Linked DNA regions of Homo sapiens: region 1 is linked to region 2. Evidence: promoter capture Hi-C in 16 types of primary human blood cells and fetal thymus (Javierre and others, 2016). All regions are on one chromosome and are shown on one strand. Each heading gives the region's core, a stretch centred on a gene start or on the middle of the fragment in contact. The rest is flanking DNA. Distances are from core to core; before and after follow the strand shown. Region 1 overlaps INSIG1-DT (INSIG1 divergent transcript). Region 2 holds the start of ESYT2 (extended synaptotagmin 2).

Region 1 (6,862 bases), core at 1,506-4,005, 3.5 Mb before region 2:
AAAAAGACTTAGCCACACCAGCTCCCGGGACAAAGGCTAAGCTGCTTAGCCTGTCCCCAGGCTTCAGCCCAGCTGACTTCTCCACTCTGTCTCCCACGTGCTCAGAATCCCCCGAGGGCCTCACGCCTCTGCGCAAGTTGTTCCTCTGCTGGAATGGCTTTGCTCCTTCTCTGGGTGACAAATTCATCTTTCGAGACTGAGCTCAAATGTCACATCTCCTGAGAGGCATTTTCTAATTGTCCCTCTTCTGTGTTTCCATAGCACCGCCTGTCTATGAATTTCTATGATAAAAATCACCAAAATGCATCGAAATGATGTTTTCATGTCTGTGGTAGGCAGAATATCAGTCCGCTCCCAAAAGTCCACAGTCTAATCCCTGGAATTCGTGAATGTGTGATGTTACATGGTGAGGGGACTTTGCAAACTCGATTAAAGATCCTGGGATGAGGAGATTCTGCTGGTGTCTAAGCCCATGCGGGGAGCTCTAACAAAGTACCAGCGACTGGGCTTATAAACAGCAGATATTCATTTCTCACAGTGCCGGAGGCTGGAAGTCCAAGCTCAGGGCACTGGGAGACAGTGTCTGGCGAGGGCCACTTTCTAGTTCAGAGATGGCGCCTTCTCCTGCATCCTCACATGGTGAAGGGGCCAGGGAGCTCTCTGGGGCTCTCTCTTCAGGGCCCCGACCCCATTCACAATGGCTCCACCCTCATGACCTCAGCACCTCCCAAAGGCCCCACCTCCTGGCACCATTGCCTTGGGGTGCGGCTTTCAACGTATGAATTTGGGAGGACACAGACACTCAGCTCATACTACCTGGGTTATTCAGGCAAGTCCCACCTAACTCCAGGCCCTTCGAAGTGAGCAGGAGGCCAGAGTGATACCACGACAGGGCCATGAGCAGGGAAGGCAGGCAGCCTCTGGGTGCTGGGAAGGGCGAGGGAACAGACCCCCTGGAGTCTCCAGAAGGAACCCAGCCTGCCAGCGCCTTGATCTTACTGCAGCGAAACCCAGTTCAGGCACCCAACCCCCAGAGCTCTGAGATGACACATGCGTGCTGTGCAGGGCCACCGTGTTTGTGGTCATTTGTCACAGCAGTGCCGGGAGCCTCCTCCTAGGTCCTTCTCCCCCATTAGTTTGTGAGCAGCTCCAGGACCATGCAGCAAGAGCCCTTGTGTATCTCTAGCACAGTGCCTGGGGCACAGCAGGAACTCCAGGGGTGAGAGCAATGGGGGTGCGGGGAGCCCAGCTATGGACTCAGGGAGGCTGGATCTGAACCCCTGCTCTGCCCCTCAGCATTGTCACAGCTTTGAGCACATTGCTTGCTTCAGGACTCCATTTCTTCACGTTCTTCACCAGATAGAGAGAACACTCATCTTTCAGGTGCCGTGAAATTGAGTAACACAGATTATATGGTGTGTCTATATTTTGGGTGGTAGCCACCGACCGTGGGGCCAAGGCCTGACATGACCACACAGGTGGCAAGCCCCTGGCCCCTCCGCCCCTCACTCCTTCCTGCTCCATGCTCCACATCCCTCCCAGTCCCGGAGGACAGAAGGCTGAAAGCAAGGTGTTTCCAGGCCCTGCTCCCTGTGAGAGCCCTACGGGACAATCCTTCCTTACTCCTTCCGGCCTCTGGTGGCTCCCAGCAAACCATGGCGCATGTCCGCCTCCGTCCTCACACGGCTTCTCCTGCATGTCTGTCTCTGGGTCTCACCTCCTCTTCTTAGGAGGAAACAGTCATGTTGGATTTGGGCCCACCCTACTCCAGTGGGAACTCATCTTAACTCATTACATCTCCAAAGACTCGATTTCCAAATAAGGTCACATTCTGAGGTTCCCAGAAGGACATGAATTTGGGGGCACACCATCCCACCCAGTGCACCCCCTCTGCCACTGCTATCTGCTGCCTTCACTCCCCAGGGACTCAGACACCTGACACACAGTCTGTCTCCATATCCCAAACCTGTCATTGTGCTGAGGACTTCGTCCCACTCAAGCATGACTCATCCAAGGCCTCGCCTCTGGGTTCCCTGACCTCCTTGGCCCTGGTGACTCACTCCACACCACTCCAGCCACCCAATCCCAGGCTCATCGTGGGGACTGCCACCCTCTGCAGTGGCTCTCCCCTGACGCCATGTGCCCACACAGCCTCCTCCTGCCCAGGCTCTCGCCTTCAGATCACCCATCCAGTAATGAATCTGTGGGAGCTTGGGTTGCATTAATCAATGAATATTGCTACCCTTGTAGGGCCAATACCCAGTGTTCACATAGGGCAAGCCTCTACACACTGACCCTTCCCTCTGTGGGGCCCTCTTCCTCCCGGCATACTCCTTTCACCTCCATTTCACCTGACCCAGGTTCCATGACGCCACCAGCCGCCTGCCGCTAACCTGCCCTCCACTGCTCCATTGCCCCTCCTTGGCACCACCAGGAAAAAACCAATTCTAGAGGCCCCTCGAATGCTCTGCCATTGCTACCCAGCCTGGAGTGTCGTAGAGAAGAACTCCCACGCCACCCTGCAGATTGGGCCCTGTGAAGTCGCCATCACAAACCTCCACCAGGCACTCCACACCAAAGGGTTTACACTCCCAGTTTCCAATCGCTCCTGTCTCCCTCTTAACTCAGGAGCTCTCCTCCTTCTTCAGAAATGACAGAAACTTCCTGAGGGGAAGGCGACCCCACCACACCGCCCCCATCTCTCCCACCTACTTCCTCAGTAGAGGGTGTGCCTGCCCAGGAATCCCCACTAGGATTGGTCCTAGACACCAATCTCCTCCTCTAATCTTCTCCTCAGGGACCTCACTCTCCACTGCCTGCTCTCACTCCCTCTTCTTCAGTCTTTCTTTATTTTATTATTATTATTTTTGAGACAGAGTCTCACTCTTGTCACCCACGCTGGAGGGCAATGGAGCAATCTCGGCTCACTGCAACCTCCACCTCCTGGGTTCAAGCGATTCTCCTGCCTCAGCCTCCCGAGTAGCTGGGATTACAGGCATGTGCCACCACGCCTGGCTAATTTTTGTATTTTTAATACAGACGGGGTTTCACCATGTTGGTCAGGCTGGTCTCGAACTCCTGACTTCGTGATCCACCTGCCTCAGCTTCCCAAAGTGCTGGGATTACAGGCGTGAGACACCACGCCCTGCCCTTCTTCTTCAATCTTTCTACTGGGTCCATCAGCGTTTATATTTGTTCACGTCTCTCATTTTTTAAAACAAAACAGGCTGGGCGCCGTGGCTCATGCCTGTAATCCCAACACTTTGGGCGGGCAGATCACCTGAGGTCAGGGGTTCAAGACCAGCCTGGCCAACATGGTGAAACCCTGTCTCTACAAAAATACAAAACTTAACCGGGTGTGGTGGCAGGTGCCTGTAATCCTGAGTGGGAGGCTAAGGAGGGAGAATCCCTTGAACCAGGGAGGTGGAGGTTGCATGAGCTGAGATCGAGCCACTGCACTCCAGCCTGGCTGACAGAGCAAGACTCTGTCTCAAAATAAACAAACAAACAGACAGACAAACTAAACTCTTTCCCCATCACTCTCTCCTCCAGCTTCCATCATCTCTCCCCTCCTTCTCACAGCCAGACCCCTTCCAGAGGGATCTTCACTGGCAGCCTCATTTTCCTTGTCTCCTTATCTCATGGAAGCGCAGCTTCCCCCGTGACTCAGGCCACTCACACCGAGCTTCCTGCTGACCACATCACAGGACCCCCAGACATGATTGGTCTCTGTCTTGCATGCCATGGCTGCCACTTTCTCCTTTCCAGAACATCCCCCCCCCGGATTTCTTGGTCGCACACTTTCTTCCTATCTTACTGGACCTTCTGCCACTGCCCCTGGCAGCCCCTTTCCTCTGCTCCAGCCTCAGGGCTGTACGAGGCACACTGACTTCTCATCCTACACAGTCTGCCTTGGCCCACCCTCCACTCCAATGCAGAGTCACCATCTGCAGTGGTCTCTGCGATGGATTCACCAACAGCTCTTCACATTGGAGGGTCATCTCTCTGCCAATCATAACTGTTCTACTCCCCTTTCCAGTGATCAATATAGGCATGGACAGTCTGACCAACTTGACTTGCAGAAGCAGCTCTGGGGTCTTCTTACCACTTGGGGCTCTGAGGATGAGTCCACTGTTGGCTGTGGAATCTGGTTGTCCCATCAGCCGCAGCGTGGGGCTGAGTATAGTCATGTGTCGCGTAACAACGAGCATGTATTCTGAGAAATGCATTGTTAGGAGATTTTTCATGCAGACACCATTGAGTGCATTTACATAAATTGAGACAGTAGAGCCCACTACACACCTAGGCTGGAGGGCATTCCTCGTACACCTGTGCAGCATGTGACTGTACTGCATACTGTGGGCAAGTGGAACCCAATGGCGAGGATGTGTGCATCTACACATATCTAAACGTAGAAGAGGTGCAGTAAACATATGGCATTACATGGGCCCACCATCGTATATGCAGCCTATCACTGATGGAAATGTCATCGTGCAGTGTATGACTGTATTAGAATCAGGAAAACTGAAAGAGTTAATGAAGGAGGGGTAAACTGGGGCCAGTAAGAGACGGAAGATAGAGAGCTACCAGATGCATTTCTTTTCTTTCTTTTCCCCCAAAGGACTGTTCTTGCAAGGCATGGTGGGTCTCCACAGCCTGTACAGAAGGTACCCTGTGTGACTAGCAACCACATGTCACGCAACAGCCATGGTCGGCTCAGTGAGGTGACCCTCACCATAGCTTCTCCTTCACTGCTTCACTCACCTCTTTCCCTCACTCTTGGGGGATTGTGCTTTCATGGCAAGTAAGCTAAGGCACTTCCCTTCATAGACAAACACTATTCTGCTTTTGAAAACGATGACATACCACTTCACATCCACTGAGATGGCTAGAATCAAAAACTCAAGGAATAACAAGTGTTGGCAAAGATGTGGAGAAATCAGAACCCTCATACCCTGCTGATGGAGGTTTAAAATCATGCAGCTGCTTTGGAAAAAGTCCAGCAGTTCCTCAAATGATTAAACATAGAGTTACCATGTGACCCAGCAAGTGCACTCCTAGTAACTCCACCCAAGAGAAATGAAGAGCTACACCCACATGGATGAGCTTGTGCACATTTATAGCAACATCATTCGTAATAGCCGAAAAGTGAGAACAACCCAAACGTCCACTAGCTGGTGAACGGATAATCAAAATGTGGCCTCTCCATACAATGGAACATTATTCAGCCATAAAAAGGGATGAAGTGCTGACATATGCTATGACATGGATGAACCTTGAAAACATTATGTCAACAAAGCCAGTCACAAAACATCACATATTATACGATTCCATTCATACGAATGTCCAGAACAGGAAATCCATAGAGACAGGAAGTAGATCAGTGGTTGCCGTGGGCTGGGGGTGGAAGTCGGGATAAGGAGGCAATAACTAAAGCATATGAAGGTCTTTTCTGGGGTGATGAAAATGTTCTAAAATGGACTGTGATGATAGTTGTACAACTCTGTGAATACACAAAAAAACACTGAATTCACCGTTTAAATGGGTGAATTGCACAATGCATGAATTCGCCCTCACTAAAGCTATTAAAAAATGGCGTAGTCTGTATTGATTGCCTTTAAAAGACGTTCATGATCACTTAATAACTGGTTCCACTAATGTGAAGTTGATCCTATTTGTGTTTTTTTAAACACATTTATGGATAGAAAAAATATTTGGAAATACATACCTCAAAATGTTAACAATGGTCATCTCTAGTTGGTAGGATTATAGACTATTTCTTTAAAATATATTTTTCCACGATGTTTTACAATGAGCATGTGATGCTTTTATATGAAAAAATATATATTTGGTAATCTACTTTATCTTAAGAATATTTCTTACAAATGGTTATTAATGTTATAATAAAAAGAACAGTAAGAACAGACTAAAGGCAAGATTGCTCACTACGTGACACCTCCCAGTCTTTAGGCCTTTATGAGTGCATGATTCTTCCGTATCCGAAAGAGCTACAGCCGTCCTGTGCTCCCTTCCGCCAGCCTGTTCAGTACAGAGGCCACCAGTCTGAGGGTTACTTAGTGATCTGGGAAGGCACGGCGAGGTGTTTAACTCAACAATAGTCAACTCCCCTAGAGTAAGGCCACATCTGTGATGATTTCTGTATTGTGGGGCAATTAAGAACTAAACGGTGCCATCATGAGCAGATTTCCCTAAATGCTGAACTCAGAGTGGCTGACAGGGGCTGAAGAGAATGAACCCCATTATCTTCAACACACGGCCCACGATTAGCAGGGAAACAAAATCAACAACAGCTTTGCTTGAGGATAAGCAAATTTCAACCCCTGAAAATCTTGGAATGTGGTTACTGATATGGAGGCTCGGTCTTCAAAGGGGGTATTCAAGGGGGTAAACTCAAACTCTCCCACTGTCTTTACCCCAGGCTGCATTTCTTCATGGGGCCAGACTCCACAGGCACCTGGGCAAACACACATTGGGAACGCAGTGACAATCTCTACCTACGACTCAGAGGCCACGCTGGAGGCCCTCAGCAGGAACCCCACGGGCAACCTTCCCACATTCCCACGGGACATCTTGGTCGGTGTAAGTGCAACAGCCACAGAGCCACAGGGTGCCTCTATGACTCCAGGATCTTCCATGGTTCATAATGTCCCAGTACAGATGAGAGGAGGGACAGAGTCAGAGAGGCTGGGTTGTATGAACACTGGTTTATTAGGTAGATAGGAAAAGAAGAATGAAGTCAATAGTCTTTAGCAAGCCAACTAGCTCAAGGAATAGACAGCCCCTTTCCATTCTGGAGACAACACATAAATCTATTAATATTAAATATTGTCATGAGGTATGC
Region 2 (7,262 bases), core at 2,920-5,419:
TTCACCCAGGGTAGTCTAATGGTCCAGGGCCCATTACCACAGGGTAGACACTTAAACAACAAAAAGCCCTGTCCTCAATTCATCCAGCCTGCCAGGCCTTTCCCCTAAGCAGTTGGAACATAACTGTTCATGGGAAAAGAAGTGAAGAATAACAACACTGTTTATATTAAAGCTGTAGGACCAAACTTACAGAATTATCACAGTTAAGTGAGAGCCATCTGTCACATCCTAATAGCCTCAATCAGGAACAGTACATATAGTTTCTCAAAGTATTAATACTCTTATCTCATTTCCATATCCAGCTTCAGTTTTTACTCAGTAAGAAGAAAAGCTGTCAGTGAATATATACAAAGGTGAGGTGAGGAAATTAGTATCTCCTTAATTCATGTTTTCCTATGTTTCCACTCTGCCATGAATTCACGGTTGTCAACGACACACTATGAAAACAAGTACAGCCTTTGGGATGTACAGATACATCTTGTTCAAGGCAAAATACCAGTCCAAAGTTCAGAAACCCCAAGCACCAATGTATGTATGGTAAAAATCAAGGTACTAGTAATATTGGCCAGGCATGGTGGCTCACACCTGTAATCCCCACACTTTAGGAAGTCTAAGTGGGAGGATGCCTCGAGGCCAAAAGTTTGAGACCAGCCTGGACAACGCGGTAAGAACTCATCTCTAGAAAAAAAAAAAAACAAAAACAAACCCAAAGTGCAAGTAATACTGAAATCTTAACTTTTCTTATTCATAGTTTCTTCTATTATTGATGTGCTTTGACCACCCCCACCACCCCTGCCGCGCAGCAGAATTTCAGGCACACTTCGAGACCATGCAACCTGCTGGTTTTATTATGAAAATAAAGTATATTACACTTTTAATAAATATCACAAAATAGATACATAAGTATAATTTAAAAGATATTTTTAAAATCTCTCTAAAACTGTCAACATAATCACTGTCAAGTTTCATGTGAATCCTTCAAGAAGCGTCTTAAGCATCCTAGGCACACTGAAGTTTACACATGTGGGATTATGAGCTCAAGTACAAATTTGGAATAAACAAGTAAAACATTCTGGAGAAAATATAAATTCTTCATGAGGTGAACACCACAGTTCATCAGTTTAAGTCACACAGATTAAAAACTTGAAAAGAATCTTTGGCTAAATTACTTTTGTATTTTTTTTTTTTTTAAAGAATTTCAGGCTGGGCGCAGTGGCTCACACCTGTAATCCCAGCACTTTAGGAGGCTGAGGCGGGTGGATCACGAGGTCAAGAGATCGAGACCATCCTGGCCAACATGGTGAAACCCAGTCTCTACTAAAAATACAAAAATTAACTGGGTGTGGTGGTGTGCGCCTGTAGTCCCAGCTATTCGGGAGGCTGAGGCAGGAGAATGGCTTGAACCCGGGAGGCGGAGGTTGCAGTGAGTTGAGATGGTGCCACTGCACTTCAGCCTGGCAACAGAGCGAGATTCCGTCTCAAAAAAAAAAAAAAAAATTTCAGTTCTTCAATAGGGCAGCAATTTCATCTGTACAGTCTGTGTGGCCGGGCGCGGTGGCTCACGCCTGTAATCCCTGCACTTGGGGAGGCCAAGGCAGGCGGAACACAAGGTCAGGAGTTTGAGACCAGCCTGGCCAACATGGTGAAACCCTGTTTCTACTAAAAATACAAAGATTAGCTGGGCGTGATGGTGCACGCCTGTAATCCCAGCTACTCGGGAGGCTGAGGCAGGAGAATCTTTTGAACCCTGGAGGCGGAGGTTGTAGTGAGCCGAGATCACGCCATTGCACTCCAGCCTGGGCAACAGGGAGAGGCTCTGTCTCAAAAAAAAAAAAAAAAGAAAAGAAAAAGAAAATCTGTGTTTCACAAAGATTTTTAACAAGCAAATTTGATATTAGCCAATAACCAAGTATCTATGAAAGTCAGCATCATCACTTCCTGCAAATTTCAGCACTGATAACATTGCTATGTTATCAATATAACATAGCAATGGATGCTAATGGACTCTGTTTTTAGCTACTTTTTAGTATTATGCATCTTAGTGTAATATAGACACAAAACGTCACTTTAAAGTCCTTTTCCATTTCCAAAGTGCACCTCCTCTGTTCTTAGTTTTCCCCACCTCGGTTCCTCTTAACTTCCTTTTTCTACACACCCCTCGGTTTTTCCCGCCGCTAGCTAAAAGCTGCACCATGCCAGTTACCTTGGTTCTCCAAATATGACTCCCTCATGCTCACCACGCATCGGCAGAACTGTACATTCCCAAGCTCCTTACATTATATTCTTACTCCAGTTGCAATATGACGTCACAAAGTAGCATCTACTACCTTCTTCTTGTCTTGGGCACGCCTCCTTTCTAATTCTTGTTTGCCATCTGTGTCATGCCTTACTTCTCAGGTGTCTCATGACTGGAAACAGGGACTTTTCTCCTCTAAGAGAAAATGACCCTTCCGAAACCCACTGCTGGTCACCTTCACCCCAAAGTTTATATTAAGCCTAATGGAAGAATCATTAAAATCCTTTCTTGCAGTGTGAAACTGTGAAGCCAAGTCATGGCTAAGAAAGAATTAGGGAATGACAAGAAAAAGATTTGAAGCCAACTCTTCGTGTCTATAGTCCATAAATATACGAGGTAGAGAACTGCCGGGTTAAAAATAAAATAATACCATGACTCTTGTTATTGCTGCAACTCTTCCAAAACTTCCTGCCACACACACACACATTCACACTGGATTCAGGTCGATCCCATATAAAAATGCTCAGTCTCACAATTATACTTGCAAAAAAACTGAAACAATCTTTCAATTATCTAATATCTCCACATCTTTCGAGAGACACTTACTGCCCTTGAAATGCGTCAGAAACAACCAAGACACGAGTGCGTCTTCTCCCGGTAGAAGAAAAAGTTAACTTCTCCCCCACCAGCTGTCATTACGTTTTTTAAAAAACAGAGAGAAGGAAAAGCTGAAGCCACCCGGAGCATTTCCAGGCCGGCAGGGCTTTGGGAATGCGCACGAGAATCGCGCTGGGCGCTCTGAGAGCAGAACCGGCCGCTCAGGCCCCTAAGGAGACCCCGCGGGCGGCACCAGGAGGAAGCGCGCGCTCCGGGCAGGGCCGCGGCCGAAGAGGGGGCGCCAAGCCCGGTACCTGCCGCTGGCGCTCGGGGTCTGCAGGCCGGGGGAGGGAAGCGGGCTTTGTGAAGAGGGGTCTCCGAGAAAGCCGCGCGGGACGGCGAGGGGAGGCTTCACGAGGGCAGACGCGCCCCGGACCCGGAGCCTGGGCGGGCGGGGAAGCGGAGAAGGGGACGCCCGACTTGGACGGAGGGAGGGCACGGAGCACTCAGGACTAGGGCGGGAGCGGCGAGCAGCGGGCGGCGGCCCCAGGCGGACAGGTTCGCAGGGAGTGGGCCGGAGGCCGGGGCGGGGCTGGGGTCTGCACTCGCCCTAGCGGGCAGGTCGCCAGCAGGCTGGGAGTCGGGGCCGGGGGGCGGGGCGGGGTCTGCACTCACCTAGGTTGGCAGGTCGCAGGAACCGGCCCGGGGGCCGGGGCTGGGGTCTGCACTCGCCCAGGCGGAAGGGAAGCGCCTGCCTGGACCGGGGTGGGTGGGGGACTACGAAGGCGGGAGCCGGGGCAGGGCTGGGGTCTGCACTCACCCAGGCGGCAGGTCGCGGGGAGGGGAGTGCCTGCCTGGACGAGGGGAGATCGGGACTGGTGGTCAGGGGTCGGGACGGGCAGGGGTCTGCACTCACCCAGGCGGGCAGGTCGCAGGCGCGCACCCCCAGGCGCACGACGCGCTCCTCGTCTTCCAGCAGCGCCAGCGCGCGGCACAGGCGCAGGGCCTTGAGGCCGCGGCTGCGGCGACACCAGGCGAGCAGCGCGAGCGCGAGGAGAACCCAGCTGAAGCTGAGCCCCAGGTAGCCCAGCGCGTACACGGGCAGCAGCAGCGCGAAGCTCCGCGCCAGCTGCGCCAGCAGCCCGGGCAGCTCCACGCTCAGCACGCCCCCGGGGTTCTCAGGCGCCGCGCGGCCCCCAGCCCCGCCGGCGCCCGCCTCCGGGCCCTCGCCCCGGGCGCCGCTCATCGCCCCGCAGTGCCGCGCTGCCCTCCCGGCCGAGGCGGGCTGGGTGCTCGCGCTGATCCCGGGCGGCTCAGCCCCGCGCCAGCGCCCCTCTGAGGGGACGCGGCTCCGCCGCACGCCCGCCTCCGCCCGGGACGGTGGCGTCATCACGCGGGGCGGGAGCGGCGTGGGCCTGGGGCTGGCACGTCACCGGGAGCGGGCGGGGTGGATACTGACGTCATCGCGCGGGGCGGGCCGTGGGCCGGGTCGGAGACTACTGGAGTGGGCCGGGCAGGCGCACGACGTCATCACGCGAGCGTTGTGTCTCGGCTGGCGGGAGCCGGGGACGGGAAAGGAGAGTGCTCGGTGCGTGGGCTGGGCGTGCCTGCGTCCCCTCGAGCCCCACGGGGCACCCTCCCCACTTGCCTGTGGCCTCGGAGCCCGCGGGCGGTTTTGGCTCGGCGTCGCGCCCCGAGGCGGCTTCCGGGTGCGTGGCTGCGCTCGCCGAGGCCCGGGAAGTTGCCGTCGTCAAACCCAAAGGCTGACCGCCTCTGGGAGCTGCTGGCAAACGTGGGGGTGCGCGGCCGCTGAGCGCAGCCGGGGTGGCGGTGGGATGAGAGGGCGGCGTCCCTGTTTGCGGTCATTTTGCGGCCAGGAGGACGGGTGAGAGGGCGCCGCCCGCCGGAGGTCGGACGGGCGCCGCTGGCGGGAGTCCTCCGGTATTTTTCGGTGTGAGGTTGCCTAGCCAGTGTGCAAGGTTGTGGCTTTTGCGGAGTCTCTCGGGACGGTCTTGTTATCGGGCATTCCGGCGTGAGAACGCTGCCTCTGGGGCCCTTCCCACCCTGCTTGTCAGGGTTTTAAACACAAACGACTCCGTTGTGACCTTGACAACTCTCACACAGTTCAGTTGGCTTTTAAGATGCCTTTAATCCCAAAAGTCCTCCCTGAGGGGTCTGGTAGTGCCGGGCAAAGACCACCGCAAGCGCCCAAGGGACGCTGTTGACACTCGGGAACTCCACCCCGGGCACCACGCAGCTTCGCCGAAGGTGTTAATATTGTGGCCAACTATGAATAGCTGTTTCAAACGACTAATTTTGGGCCTTTCCTGTGATTCCTGAGGTCACTTTTCAGTTAACTCAAAAACACAACTATTGATCACTTTACTTTCCAGTGAATTCAATCGAGTTAATTATATTTGTTCTGTAGTTTCTTTCAAGGAAACTCCAAGCCAAACAGTAGCAAAGAACATCCTACTTGACTGTTTTTGAGCATATTCAGTGAATTCCAAGGAAATTTTTACTGAATTTGTAACAGAGTAGGGCACTGGCAGGTACTGAATGAATAAACAAATGCCCAGAAGAAGCAGGGTCACCTTTACATAGGAATCTGTCTCCCCTCGTTCCTGCGTCTTCATAATTTTGTGTGCATATGTATGTGGAGATTATATCACATATGTAAAACATTGCAGAGTCTAAACTCTCAACTCCAGGCAAGGGCAGTAAACCCCAAGCAAGGAATGGAAGTGGTTTCCCTTTTCTTACTCTTCACAGTCCCTGGTTTGCTGCAGCAACAAATTATATTATGTAGATTGTAAATATGCAACCGGTTAATGCTCCTAACACCACCTTTCATTCAAAACTAAGCCTCAACACAAAAGCAAGTAATTGCTTTGTTGACACAGAAAGGAGCCTGAGCCTTTCTTTTGCAGCTTTCCTCTACTGGAAAATTGTAGGATCACATCCTACAAAGACTTGCATAAACATAAGCCACGTAAAAAATTCTGTAATCCCAGCACTTTGGGAGGCCGAGGAGGGCAGATCACGAGGTCAGGAGATCAAGACCATCCTGGCCAACATGGTGAAACCCCGTCTCTACTAAAAATAACAAAAAATTAGCCGCGCATGGCGGCGCGCACCTGGAGTCCCAGCTACTCGGGAGGCTGAGGCAGGAGAATTACTTGAACCCGGGAGGCGGAGGTTGCAGTGAGTCGAGATCGCACCACTGCACTCCAGCCTGGGCGACAGAGCAAGACTACGTCTCAAGAAAAAAAAAAAAATCCTGTGCCATGTGCCATCCAGTGGTTGACCCAAGGATGTAAACTAGATTGAAGAGAAGTTTCCATGTTGCATACCAGTCAGCCCAAGTGTCCTCAGCTTCCCTCTGTGTGAGCCCCGGGTTTCCAGCCCCTCCCTGTGGTTAATTGCCTGCAGAAAGCAGATCCTAAGGCTCTGCCACAGCTCAGTCTTACAGGTGTCTGGTCTGACTGCAGGTCCAGCTCGGCTCTTAGATTTTTGCTAATATTATACCCCTCAATCTCCTGTGACCTTTCATGACCCCTCCATCCTTTCCTTCTTGTAGACAAGGAGAAGTGCTGCTTTCTCTGGAGTGTCATTCCGAGTGCTCCGGTGCACAGCTGCGAAGTTCCAGCCTTCCTGGTTTCAGAGGAAAGTGCTATCTTGTGCTTAGGTTCAACTCTTCCTGCTTTTGGGTCCTCCCCCACACCTCTAAATACGTCTCGTTATGGAGGGTGGGAGCACGTGCTCTGCATCTCTTCAATTTGGAGGTTATACCAGCAAATTAAATATACTGGGGACAGTGAAAGCCAGGTTTCTTGCTGTTGGAGAAGGTAAAAACATGGAAGAGGGAAGGCTAAAAAGAACACTGAGGGATTGGATTGGAACTGGAAGTGGTAGTATGAACTCATTTTTTTAAAATATGTATATACAGATAGATATAAAGATAGCTGTATGTGTGTGCACACATGTGTAGGTATATGTGCATATAAACACAGAAATAGTTTCTAGTTCTGTCTGCTGAGTATCTAGATGCAATGGTACCCCAGTACCAGTGATCACAGCTAGCCCCCAGATCTTATCTTCTAAATAAGGTTTTCCAACAAAAGGAATCAGGGCTCTTTGGAGAAATGGTTAATTTCAGGGCTGGAGTGGAAGTACAAGATGATCCTGGAATAATTTTGTTGTTCAAGGAAGTGAAGAAGTGCTCAAAGATTGACAGGAGATCAAAGGACATGGAAAGTAGTTGGAGGGAGTTCTTGCTGGCGAAATCTAGGACAATTTGAGCAACAAAACAAAGAATGATATTGGCAGATTACCACTGAGTGAGCAAAATAGAAACGCATGAGTTGAGTCCACACTGATGTAGATCAACAAACCAGTGATGAATGCAGGGAAAATAATAGTGGAGAAG

The links. The method cuts DNA at HindIII sites, captures the fragments that hold promoters and counts their contacts. A CHiCAGO score of 5 or more calls a contact.
Region 1: a fragment that was not itself captured here is called in contact with the fragment with the promoter of ESYT2 in region 2 in 2 of 17 cell types (M0 macrophages and monocytes); the score reaches 5.5 in M0 macrophages.

What each region holds. Positions count from the first base shown.
Region 1 is chr7:155,289,208-155,296,069 of GRCh38, forward strand. All of the region lies in intron 1 of INSIG1-DT (INSIG1 divergent transcript), which reads right to left. Among named protein-coding and RNA genes, the nearest start is that of INSIG1, 5.2 kb to the right of the region's middle. RefSeq lists a cis regulatory region at 1,748-2,347. The HindIII fragment of the contact is 8,705 bases long and covers 1-6,862 here.
Region 2 is chr7:158,825,340-158,832,601 of GRCh38, forward strand. It overlaps ESYT2 (extended synaptotagmin 2), which reads right to left and starts at 4,170. Exons shown (of 23, transcript NM_001367773.1): 1 at 3,750-4,170. The coding sequence starts at 4,079. RefSeq lists enhancers at 2,944-3,013, 5,024-5,133 and silencers at 3,134-3,333, 3,414-3,463, 3,554-3,743, 3,794-3,893, 3,984-4,713. The HindIII fragment of the contact is 12,010 bases long and covers 1-7,262 here.